3 separate regions of the Homo sapiens genome follow, and all the other regions are linked to region 1. The links are contacts of gene promoters, found by promoter capture Hi-C in human tissues and cell types (Jung and others, 2019). All regions are on one chromosome and are shown on one strand. The core of a region is centred on a gene start or on the middle of the fragment in contact, and the rest is flanking DNA. Distances in the headings are between cores, read along the strand shown. Region 1 holds the start of SMARCE1 (SWI/SNF related BAF chromatin remodeling complex subunit E1). Region 2 holds the start of KRTAP17-1 (keratin associated protein 17-1). Region 3 holds the start of KRT14 (keratin 14).

The links. Contacts are between HindIII fragments. The study calls those that stand out against the background at their distance.
Region 2: a contact is called between the fragment with the promoter of KRTAP17-1 here and the fragment with the promoter of SMARCE1 in region 1, in 1 of the 25 tissues and cell types used here (IMR-90 fibroblasts).
Region 3: the fragment with the promoter of KRT14 here is called in contact with the fragment with the promoter of SMARCE1 in region 1 in 1 of the 25 tissues and cell types used here (dorsolateral prefrontal cortex).

The regions. Positions count from the first base shown.
Region 1 is chr17:40,646,263-40,650,410 of GRCh38, forward strand. It overlaps SMARCE1 (SWI/SNF related BAF chromatin remodeling complex subunit E1), which reads right to left and starts at 1,556. Exons shown (of 11, transcript NM_003079.5): 1 at 1,511-1,556. RefSeq lists a silencer at 1,795-2,089. The HindIII fragment of the contact is 9,510 bases long and covers 1-4,148 here.
Region 2 is chr17:41,313,883-41,317,596 of GRCh38, forward strand. It overlaps KRTAP17-1 (keratin associated protein 17-1), which reads right to left and starts at 1,828. Exons shown (of 1, transcript NM_031964.2): 1 at 1,030-1,828. The coding sequence starts at 1,768. The coding sequence ends at 1,451. The HindIII fragment of the contact is 6,672 bases long and covers 353-3,714 here.
Region 3 is chr17:41,585,303-41,589,109 of GRCh38, forward strand. It overlaps KRT14 (keratin 14), which reads right to left and starts at 1,593. Exons shown (of 8, transcript NM_000526.5): 1 at 1,008-1,593. The coding sequence starts at 1,532. LOC124904003 (a long non-coding RNA gene) reads left to right here and starts at 3,045. Exons shown (of 2, transcript XR_007065755.1): 1 at 3,045-3,234; 2 at 3,561-3,649. RefSeq lists an enhancer at 1-496. The HindIII fragment of the contact is 15,142 bases long and covers 1-3,807 here.

The DNA of each region.
Region 1 (4,148 bases), core at 306-2,805:
TAACAATTTTTATTAAAATTAGGCAGCATTTTATTCCTGGAAGCAGTGCAAAAGGTAATTGGTATGACAATGAACTTCACATTCTCTTATAATGGTAAATAGCTTCATAAATGCTGGGAATAAATTTTGAGAGTCTACCTGAAAAACTTTTATTCATCATTCACAGCCCATTTCAAAATTTTTCTCCTCAAGGGAACTTTCTTGATACATTACCTGGGCAGAATTAACTGCTCCCCCATCTGTATTCCTATACAGTTTACACAGATCTATATTATTATAACTTTTTTTTAACTTATCAATATGGCTAGATTGTATGCTACTTGGAAAGAGGGACCATGTCAGGACCTAGCTCAATTCTTAGGAAATTTTTTCCTAGTATTACCAGCTCACAACATAACCAGGCACATGTGAGCTTGTTCTTTACATCAACATACATCACAAATAGTGAGGTACAAAAAGACAAAAATTCATCTTTGGAAAGAAGGCAAATAAACTTCTATGACTATTGGAGGTATTTGCAACCAAACATGTGGAATAGATCTGATTTTTCGCTTCTATTATTAATTTTAAGGAAATTCCCTGGAGCATAAGGAATGAGTCCTGGTGTGGAAAGAAACAGCTCATTTTCTCAATGGTCCAACCTGAGTCTTTCCCTCTTAAAGAACAGCCAGAAACCTTTGACTCTGGTGTAGATTTCCTTTCTGCTCACATTAAGGGAGCTGTCAACATCCAGCAGGCCTCGCTGCAGGGGACCCTGACAACTAACATAAGCTCCCTGTACGTTATACTTCATTGTTAATACTTTAAAATTATTGCTCTCTTTTGCTAGAATACAAAATTTAAGAGTGGGCTTGTACATTTGTCCACCGTTGGATCCATCTTTGGTGCCTGGCATAAAAATAAATACCCGATAAATATTTGTTCAAGAAATACTTTATACGGGGTACGCTTATGACACTATTTCGCTTAACACTCACAAGTACTTTATATGTACAGCTATCCCCATTTTACAGATGAAACAAGGGAGTCTCGGAAAGTTTAAACAACTTGTCTGAAGCCATATGCAGCCAGGAAGTGCCAAAGTTGGGTTTCAAACCCAGGCCAAACTATTTCAGAGCTCTGCTCGTCCTCAAGTCGCTGCCTGAACCAATGGGGGAACCTTCTGCCCGGGTGGGGGGTGAACCACGGACCTGCCTTGCCCACGGCTTCCTGAGGTCGCTCTCTTTGTCTTGGAGAATGTACTTTACTAGCAACTCCCCTAAAACGGGGTATTCACAGGTGCTTTGACCAATTTCGGGGGACTGGCCTTGCCTCCAAGGAGGGGGCCCCAGATGGGACTCCCTCCCAACCCTCGCTCTGCTAGGCCTCAAGGAGGCCTCAACCGGCTCCTGGCTCTGGCCCCACGGCCAAGGCTGAACCCCAGCAACCCCCGGGAACTCGGGGTCTAGCCAAGCGGGGACACCACGACTTGCACCCACCGACCCGGTCCGTCCCACTTGGAAACACTCACCCGCGGGCAGAAAAAGCGCCCGCAGCTCCGGCTTCGCTTCCCTTTGTCCCGCGCTCGCCCCGCCCCTCGCGTCCGGAGCTTCCGCACTCGCACTTTCCACACTCTTCTTAATTTTTTTTTTTTTCCGGGCCCCACCCGACCCTCTTTAGAAAAACTAACCTTCTAGTGAAGATGCGGTGATGCTTAGCACACTCAGGGATTTTTTTCAGGACCCATTGGATCCTCAAAACTCCCCGAATTTTGATACTTTCCCAGCCGGGCGCTGATTCGTCACGGCGAAGAGGGCCGAGGAGGCCCGACCTAACACAGAATAGGCCTGGGTTTAGCGGCTGTGAGGAGCCGGAGCCGCCGCAGCGACCGAGGAAGTGGCGGGAGGTGCCGAGCCTTGCGGAGGGGCGGTGGGGGCCGCGGTGGGAGACGGCGGATGGCGCTCAGCGCGAGGCCGCGGAACCACTGTGGCAGCAAGCAGTTCGGCCAGACTCCCGCTGAGCCCGCTCCTGGAGGGGCCCTCCCCGACTCCGGTCTTGCTTTCCTTTAGGCTGTGGGTCAGAGTCTACACTTCACTAAACCTGGGATGGAGGCGTGGAGGACTTGCTTCGCGGCGTTTGCGTCCTCGCAGGCGCCTCGCAGGGCTTCCTGCCCTCACGGCGGGGGAGTAGCTTTGGCGAAAATCAGCACGAGTTCTGCAGTTTTTCCAAGCGCTTTTAGGGTGTAATCGTCCCAGGTTTCTAAGCCAAGGCCCGGAGAGTTGACCCCCTCGCAACAGCTTGTGTGTCCTTGCAGCGCCGCGGGTGCCACCTGGTCTCCGCCTCAGCGCTGCCTCGGCTCCTTCGGTTCCCACCAGCGGGAACGACCGTCCCCACTTTCAGCTTAAACTCATCTGTCCTTCTGGATCCAGCTCAGAGGTCTCTTTGTGATGCCCTCCTGGAACTTCCCCCCTAGTAATCCTTCCTTTGTATTCCCGTGGCTCTTTGATAATAATGGTTGGAGTCCTGAACCCGACCCTTTGTATCGGACCGTGTTTGTCATCTCCAGTGCTTTATGAAGGCCTTGAAAGCAAGGTTCAGCCGTCTGTATTGGTCATCTTCCCATTGCCAGTGCCTACGAAGGGCTTGACCCATTCATTGTTAGACGCTCAGTAAGTGTGTATTGAGGCAGCCCTCTGTGCCACTCCAGGGCTCTTTCCACTAAATCATGAGTATGTTGGTTTACCAGATGGAATGAGTAGCCTCTTCTTTGGATACATAAACACCCGATGGATATTGTGGGTCACTGTGGAGGGAGAATGAACGTATGGGATCCCTGACCTGTGGTTACTGGAAAACAGTTGACATTTAGAGAGAGGCTGAATTCTTGGGCTTCCCGTAGCCCCCATCCTGAGTGTGCCAACAGGGACTAGAAGCATCTCTAGTCTGCAAAGCGAGGAACAAGTGATACTCTGTCCAATTTTTCCAATATTGTTATACTCATGAATAGAGATTAATGAAATTGAAGAGCATATTCAAGAGAAAGACTAAAGGAGAAGTCGTCTGCCCCGTGGACAGGCAGCTTGAGTGGTGCTTGAGAAAATGTACATGAAATTGCTTGTTAAAAAATATTCACGCCTGTAATCCCAGCTCTTTTGGGAGGCCGAGGCGGGCAGATTACTAGGTCAGGAGATCGAGACCATCCTGGCTAACACGGTGAAACCCCGTCCCTACTAAAAATACAAAAACAAAATTAGCCGGGCGTGGCGGCGGGCGCCTGTGGTCCCAGCTATTGGGGAGGCTGAGGCAGGAGAATGGCGTGAACCCGGGAGGCGGAGCTTGCAGTGAACGGAGATGGCGCCACTGCACTCCAGCCTGGGCGAGAGAGCGAGACTCTGTCTCAAAAAAAAAAAAATTATATATATATATATGTATATATCCATCAGAGACATGTAAAGGATTAAAGTACGATACACAAAGGCCTCAGAAGGGATTTCAGTACATTCTTTTTCTGGCTTCGTCCAGCAACTCCAGCCTGGTTTCTTCCCTGCCTTTGGGATTATGGTGGGAGGATTGGGCGAGTGCAGTGCTGGGGAGGCGCTGTGTGTTGTCTCTAGGCAGTCCTCTGAAGAAAAACTGCAGGTTTTGGATGTTAAGAATAAAGCACCCTATAGTAGGAAAGGGGTGGCCCAAAAACGGCAAAAAGGGAAAGGAGGGGACCTAAGTGGAGCAGTGACATTGTCTGATACACTTTCTCACTGGGTTTCTGCTCAGATGTCACCTTCTTAGTAGGTGTTTCCTGACCTTTTTAAAATTGCATCTCATTCCCCAACCCCCGGTGTCTGTTCATGGCCTGTGCTTTACTTTTTCTGTAGCACTTGTCGCTACCTAACATACTATACTTCTTATGAATTTATTTTGTTTTGTCTTTTTCTTCTTCTTTTCTTTTTTTTTTTGAGACGGAGTTTCGCTCTTATTGCCCAGGCTGGAGTGCAATGGCGCGATCTTGGCTCACTACGACCTCCGTCTCCCGAGTTCAAGTGATTCTCCTGCCTCAGCCTCCCAAGTAGCTGGGATTACGGCATGTGCCACCACACCCTGCTAATTTTGTATTTTTAGTAGAGACGAGGTTTCACCATGTTGGTCAGGCTGGTCTTGGACTCCTGACCTCA
Region 2 (3,714 bases), core at 578-3,077, 670 kb after region 1:
AGTGGTGAGCCTTCGAATGCTATATTCTTTATATGTTTCTGTATTTTTTCATTTTTTAGAGTTCATTGCTATGCTTATAATCAGAAAAAAATTTTTCTTTGTCAAATGAAACATCGCTTTGTAGGCATAAAAATAAATACTATTTTTCCAGGGCAAGAGCAAAATTAGTTTTATTACACACACAGCTTAAGGTCACTTTCAACAAAAGGTTGATCAACTGTCTTTTGAGTTTTAACCTCCCAGGTGGACCCACACACCTTGGCTGGGCCCTACCTAGCAGAGGTATACTCACTCCCTCCTCCTTAGAACTCAGGCAGAAGAAACGTAGCTGGTTCCAGGTAAGACAACCTAGCACAGAAAAGTGAGACTGGACCAAGCATGAGGCTGGAAGAAGGAACTGTACTGCGCAGAACATCCTCAGAAACTGTGAATTCACTAGCTTTGCCATTAGAAATCCTTTCCATTCAGAACCAATCTTGTTTTACCAAAGCCTCCTTTCCGACTTTGCCAGAAAGTTCTGATCAAGCCTGAAGCCCTCCTGCAGAACCATCCTAGGAGAGCTGTAGTGCAGAAGAAAGCCATGCCCCTCAATCACCATTAAATGTGGCCAGCATCAGCATTCACCCAGGAGCTTTTAAAAATGCAGGTCCCTAGGGACTCTAGGCCCTAGAGCTAACGGGTAAAATCTCCAGTGATAAAACCCAATGATCTATATTTTTAAAAGCTTTTCAAGTGAATCTCATGCAGCACACGGAAGCTTCCGTCTAGATCTATGGTTCTCAAACTTCAGTGCATAAGAATTATCTAAGGTTCTTGTTAAAAACACAGATTCCCAGGCCACACTTTGGTGGATTCTGATTCTGTATGTCTTAGGGAGGGCCTCAGAGTCTCCAGTTTTAACAAGCTCCCAGGTGATTCCGACGCAGGTGATCCAAAAACCACAATTCAAAAACCCTAAGGCAGATGCCAGAGTGAATTTTTCTAACCCAGTCCTCAGCAGGGAGGTCAAGGAAGAGGCAAGAGAACTAATTAGGTTATGCCAGCATGCTCAAATTTATTAAGAGGCTCACAAAGAAGATGGACCTTTTTTGCATCTCAAAGCTGCAGAAAGCCAGGGCGGAGGATCAGTCCCAAAGACACCTTGAAGAAGAGGATGTCTTATAGTACAAGACATTGAACTTCATGTGAATAAGTAAAGTATTGGGGATTCACCCTTGAGCTTGGGATCACTTAGTTGTGACCGAGTTTTAATGTTTCATCAGAGTATGGCTCTTGTTCTCGGTGCCTTGAAATACCAGAGAAGGTGTTGGAGAACAAGCCCTCCTCTACAAATCACAGAAAGACAAGACACTGTCTTGGGGGTATGGAAGGTTCTGGACACGAGGGGCTGTCCCCCTGGAGCAGATGGAGGCTTTCGGTGGGACTGCATCAGTGGTGGAGGGAAAGGTCTTCATTTTGTGTCGCATATAGGTGTGGGCTGGCAGCACACAGGCCCACAGCACCCGGAGCCGCAGCAACTGGACCCACAGCAACTGGATCCACAGCAGCCACCCCCGCAGCCTCCGCAGCCTCCACAGCCTCCGCAGCCAGATCCACAGCAAGACGATCCGCAGCAGCTGCCCCCGCAGCCAGAGCCCCCGCAGCCAGAGCCCCCACAGCCACAGCAGGAGCCGCAGCAGCCACAGCAGCCCGGCTGACAGCAGCACTCTTCACAGCAGTTTTGCTCCTGGGTGCAGCAGGTGAAGCAGTCCCCCGGGCAGCACCCCATGGTCCGGGCCCGTCAGCTCGCAGGTCGGTAACGCAGCCGGAGTTCCCCACGACTGACGGTGGCCAGCCATCTGGATGGCAGCTTTTATATCCCCTCACCCAGGCATGAGGGACGGGATGTTTTCTTTGTTATTATTTATGCAAGTTTCCATAAGACCGGCTCATTAACTGGCTGTTTATTTTCCAGTCCTGAGTACCTCAACTCATAAAAACGCCCCACTCCTGCCAACTGCTGTTTATCCAGAGGGTAAAAATACATCTTCGAAAAGACCTGTCATCATGGCCAAGCATCTGCCAGCTGTCATTAGCCCAGGTTGGAGATGGGAAGGGGAAGCCGGCCACAGCTTCTGGCTCTGGAATGAGGGGCTTGCCTTCCACATCTTCGCAGGTTGGCGATGGACCCCATCTTCCATGGATGCTAGTCCTGGAAAGGCAGACCGGCAACAGCCGAATGCTCTGTTCCCCCTGACACCAGTGGAGGCTACTGAGAACGCCTGGTCACGTGGCTCCTCCCAGGTGGAAATGGCATCCTCATCCCGGTTCATGTGAGCCAGGCAAATGTTTGTGTCTGTGTGTGGTATGGGGAGTGTGCCACACGTTTAGGCTTGGCCGGTGAGCATCAGTCATGAGTAATAACTGCCCTGTGAAACCGAGAGAGACTCATCGTAAAGCTGCAAGAAGCTGGTAAGGCATGGTCTGTCTCGGCGGCAAGGTGAGCTGAATATTCGCACTTCTCTCTAAATAGGTGGGAAGAACTGAGATCAGAACCCTCTACCCACCCCCACTCCAGCCCCAGGCCTTTCCTTGACCGGGGAAGGAAGAGATGCAGGAGGAGGAAGAAGAGGAGAAGGGGAGGAAGAAAGGAAAGAAGAAAAGAAAGAAGAAAGCAGGAAGGAGATCAGTAAATATCCAAAATGCTACATTAAAATGGGAATGTAACGCACTTTTTTTAAGAGTTCGAACCTTATAGACCATCTGGCAGAAGGAGAAATTAGAATACAAAATACCCAGAGTGTCATCCCAAGGAATAAAATGCCTTTGCAAGGAGTCTAAAATCTACAGATGGTTCAGGTCCATGTGTAAATTTTGAGATGGGTCAAAATTTCTGTCTCTTTCTTGGACTTTGGTACCTTGTTCTCCTCTTGGAGTGCCCATGGCAGCCCTGGAGCTGGAATACAACATCTAGTAGGGGTAGAGGACAGAAGATAGGGGTGGGGTGGGAATGGAAGGAGGGATGGGAGTAAGGATCTGGATCAAGGGATCTAGTCCTTCCCTTTTCATTTCCCTTTCTTTGTAAGATGGGCTAGAAGTAAGACAGCCTCTAAGAAGGGCTAGAAGAACTAAGGACAGGGTGGGAGTCGGGAGGGTAAATGATGAATGAGTTACTTGGATCTGATATGATACTCAATACTTCACAGGATATGGAATTTTAGAGCTGGGAGGAACCCCTGAAACATCATCTGGTCCAGGGTTTTATATCAGAATTGCCTAAAAGGGGGCCTTTTGAAAAATACAGATTCCCAAACTGTATTCCAGTCCTTATGATAAATCAGAATGTGTGCTTATGAGAGCTTGAGAAGCTATATATTTTAAACTTTCTCAGGTAACTTGGGTTACATTAGGAAACACTGATATAATCTAATCCTATCATGACCATCACTGCCAAGCACTTGTGTTTTACAGAAGATGATACCAAGGCCCAGAGATGACACATCCGTGGTAGATTGGACCCATGGCCCAGATGTTCTCCCTCCTGGTCCACTGTTTCTTCCACCATACCACATCCACAGATGGGCACCTCTGAGTGAGTATAATACAGCAATGTCTATGGCAGACGTGTCCTTTTTTGTTTGTTTGTTTGTTTTTTTGAGATGGAGTCTCACTCTGCTGCCCAGGCTGGAGCGCAGTAGCTTGATCTTGGCTCATGGCAACTTCCGCCTCCTGGGC
Region 3 (3,807 bases), core at 343-2,842, 940 kb after region 1:
TCCCAATTCTGCCAGTGTCTTGCTGCAAAACCTAATGGGTCTTGGGGCTTCAAGTTCCCCACCTCCAGGTGAGGAGAATAATCTGAGGCTCCCTAGCCCTCCTTCCTGAGCTGACCTCTCTTCTGTCTGCATCAGCCAGCCCTGCCAGTCCTCTGCAGATATGCACATTCCTTTTCAAGCTCACAGGCCATGGGACTTCAAGTGGAACTTTCTCAAGAGATAAAACCCAACTAACACAGGGGATTAGAAAAGAGGACTCAGGGGAAGAATAAGAAGATATATTGGCCCCTGAGTCTGGTTGGATTTCCCCACCTCATCATTGAATTTCCCTAATCCATGCAAGTCATTAGAGCCCAACAGACTCCAGCAGGGAGGGCTCCCAAGTAATGTGGGAGCAGGGAGGAGGGGGCTAGAGTCAGGGCACAAGCCTGCCAGGCTCTCTCTGTGCAGGGCACATCAAGGGACCACACTAATTGTCTCTGCAGGCTCTCCATGCCCGCCTGGCTGTGGGGAGGGACCAGCCTGTACCAAGGCTTATGGGCGGCGGCAGCCACAGCCCAGACTAGTGAGCTAATGAGTGGTTTGGATGTCTTGCCTGGTCCCGTTAGAGCCTCACTCCTCCCCTGTGCTGGAGAACAAGTAGCTGCCTCCTGTGCTGGAAGGTAGGGCACAAGGGCCCCAGCCTTGGCTCTGCCATTAATTTGCTATGTGACCTGCAGCTGGTCACAGCACCTCTCGAAGCTTCAACTGCTTCCTCTAAAAAATGTAAGGATAGGAATCACTGATCTCACATGGTCTGAGGATTTGAGATCAGAAGGGGATGAGGAGGCTGGGGAAGGGAAAGCATCTTCTCACTGATCAGTCTTAGGGCATCCAAGACCTCGAAAGAAGGGATCTGGGGTGGACTCTGTCCTATAGAGAAATCTTAAGGTCTCAGGGGCCTGGGGCATGAATTGTTCCCAGAAGGAGCTAGCTGGAATGGTGCCTTCTGCTGCCCATTCACCCACCTTGTTCCTCAGGTCCTCAATGGTCTTGAAGTAGGGACTGTAGTCTTTGATCTCAGCAGGCCGCTGCCTCTGGTACCAGTCACGGATCTTCACTTCCAGGTCGGCGTTGGCCTCCTCCAGAGCACGCACCTTGTCCAGGTAGGAGGCCAGGCGGTCATTGAGGTTCTGCATGGTCACCTTCTCACTGCCCACCAGAAGCCCATCACCACCAGCAAAGCCACCACCAAAGCCACCACCCAAGCCAGCACCAAGGCCACCACCATATCCTCCCCCAAAGCCACTACCAAAGCTGCTGCTGCTGCTGCTGAAGCCACCGCCATAGCCGCCCCCCAGCCCGCAGGCTCCCCCAGAGGAGAAGCGGGAGGATGAGACAGACAGGCCGCCCCCGTAGGTGCTGGGGGCGCGGCAGGACCCTCCGGCCAGGACGGAGGAGATGCGGCTGGAGCCGCCCCCGATGCCGCCCCCGATGCCGCAGGAGCCCTTCATGGAGCTGGAGGAGGTGAACTGGCGGCTGCAGGTGGTCATGGTGCAGAGGAGGGAGGTGAGCGAGCGAGCAGTTGGCTGAGTGAAGAGAAGGTGCTCGGGTAAATTGGAAAGGGATGCGAGTGCTTTATACTCGTGGGTAGGGGGCGGGTCTGGCACTTTCCATTCCCCTTGGCTTTCATCACCCACAGGCTAGCGCCAACTCCCAGCCAGGTCCCTCCTCTCATCCGCCTCATCATGTCTGTCATATTTTACTGGAAACTCATTGTTTGGAGTGTTTTGGGCTTTCTTGTCCCGCCAGGCGTGATTCACAGGGGGAGGTGTGGGCCTGCAGGCTACACTTTCCCATCGGACCCTGGGAGTCCCAGCCCTCAGGAACCCGCGCACTGGGCTTAGCCAGGGTGACAGAGAGCAGGGCCTCTGCACCTTAAACCTAGTTACCTGCTAGCTCTCCATGAACTGAATGGGCCTTTAACATCCACGTAGAGGAAGCCTGCTGCTGCAGGGGATGGATACCCGGCTGGAAAGCACCGGCATGGCAAGGTCACCTTGGGCACAGACAGGCCTCCCTCACCATGACCCTCTATTAGAGACAAGGAGGTCTGGGGGGCCCTCCCAGGCCTGACCTCCCATGCTGTGCTGAGAAGTCTGTCCCATCCCTGAAATACACCCAGCTAGTCAGGTGTATCGTGGTTCCCACCCCAACATCCCCATCAAAGAGAAATCCAGGCAGCTCTCCCCAGCCCTGAGCACAGACCCTAATCTCCTCCCTATGGTGAGGATCTCACATCCACCACACCATAGGGCAGGTGGCCTCATGGAGGCCAGGAAACAGCCTGGAGTCAGGTGGGTCCTGGCTCTGCCATTTACGCCTCTGTGACCCAGGGCTTGGCACTTCTCTGAGCCTCAGTGTTCTCATCTGCAAAGTGGGAGTCATACCATCTATTCTGCTTAGTGCAGTCAGCTCTGAGAATCCAATGCGACAATGTATGTGAAAGGGTTTTGTAAACCGAGTATGGCAAGAAGCCTCGTTGGCATTGTTATAGCCCAGGCTTAGCCCCAAAGTGGCTGGAGCTGCATCCAGGAACAGGCCTAGGGGGGCCTTTTATTCTTCCAGCCCCAGATATCTTCTCAGACCCCCAGAACATCCCTAGTGTGGGCAGCTCAGGCGCCCTCGTTTGAGCCCCTTGTGGAACTGGCCCAGGAGATGTTCTGGGGAGGAGTAGAGGCTGGAGTGGAGCTGGGCTGTGCCAAGGGCAAGGCTGAGGTGGACACGAGGGTCCCTGACTCCTGAAGCCCCAAGGGTCAGGGGACATTTCTAGGAGTCCACTTGGTCCTGCTTTGGAGGTGTGTATATCAAAACTTCAGCAATCTCCCAGACAACCTCCCAAAGCAAACCCTTCCGGCCCCCACCCCACCCTCCCATCAGCCCCTAGGCTCCACAGACCCCGGCAGGCATGTTGAGAGGAATGTGATCGTGTCTGGGGCTGCCTGACGCATCCTATCTCCTCAGACAGGCCCCAACAGCCCCTGCTGGAGGCTCCAATGCTCTTCCTGGGATCAACTGCTCCTAGAAGAGAAGCAGGACCCTCTGTCACCCCCAACCCCACCTTGACTGTCACCAAAGAAGAAGCCAGAGAAGGGAGCCCCCCACTACTGTGGCCTAGGAGCTTGGAAGACAATGCTGAGACAGACATCTGAGCTGTGGGCTCCCCAAATCTGCCAGCAAAGGACTCTCAAGGATGTGAGTAAGCCAGGGCCCCACCCCGCTCCACCCGCCCCTGACAGACACTCCTAATCTCCCTGCAGAGAATGGTCCCCCCACCCTGGCCCAGCCCTACAATTTCCCCAGAGAGAGGCAACAGGGGTTTTGGCTGAGGGACAGATGCTTTTGTTGGGAGGCATGTTGCTGTTGGCTGTGGGGCAAGGGGAGGCTGTGCTCACTGGAGAAAAATGCTGTGTCCAGAGGGATCTGGGAGCGGGAATGGGGTGCAGAGCCCAGTACCGGCTTCCTCTGTGCCCCACCACCCCCACCCACCACCACCACCACCATGTCTCCTTCTTATGCAGGGATCAGGAATAGAAGCTCCGGAGCCCGGGACATAGGAACAGCTCTACTTTCCCTTTCATTTCATTCAATAAAACCCAAAAGAAACTCCTTCCTCCCCCTCCTCCGAGGGGAATCCAAAAGATAAAGATGGCAGGGAACCAATGACAGATCAGTCAATCACATAATCTTAAAAGGCACTTCTGCAGTCCCACCCCAACCCCACGCACCAACACCAGAACCCTAGCATGGAATATAAGCCTGATCCCC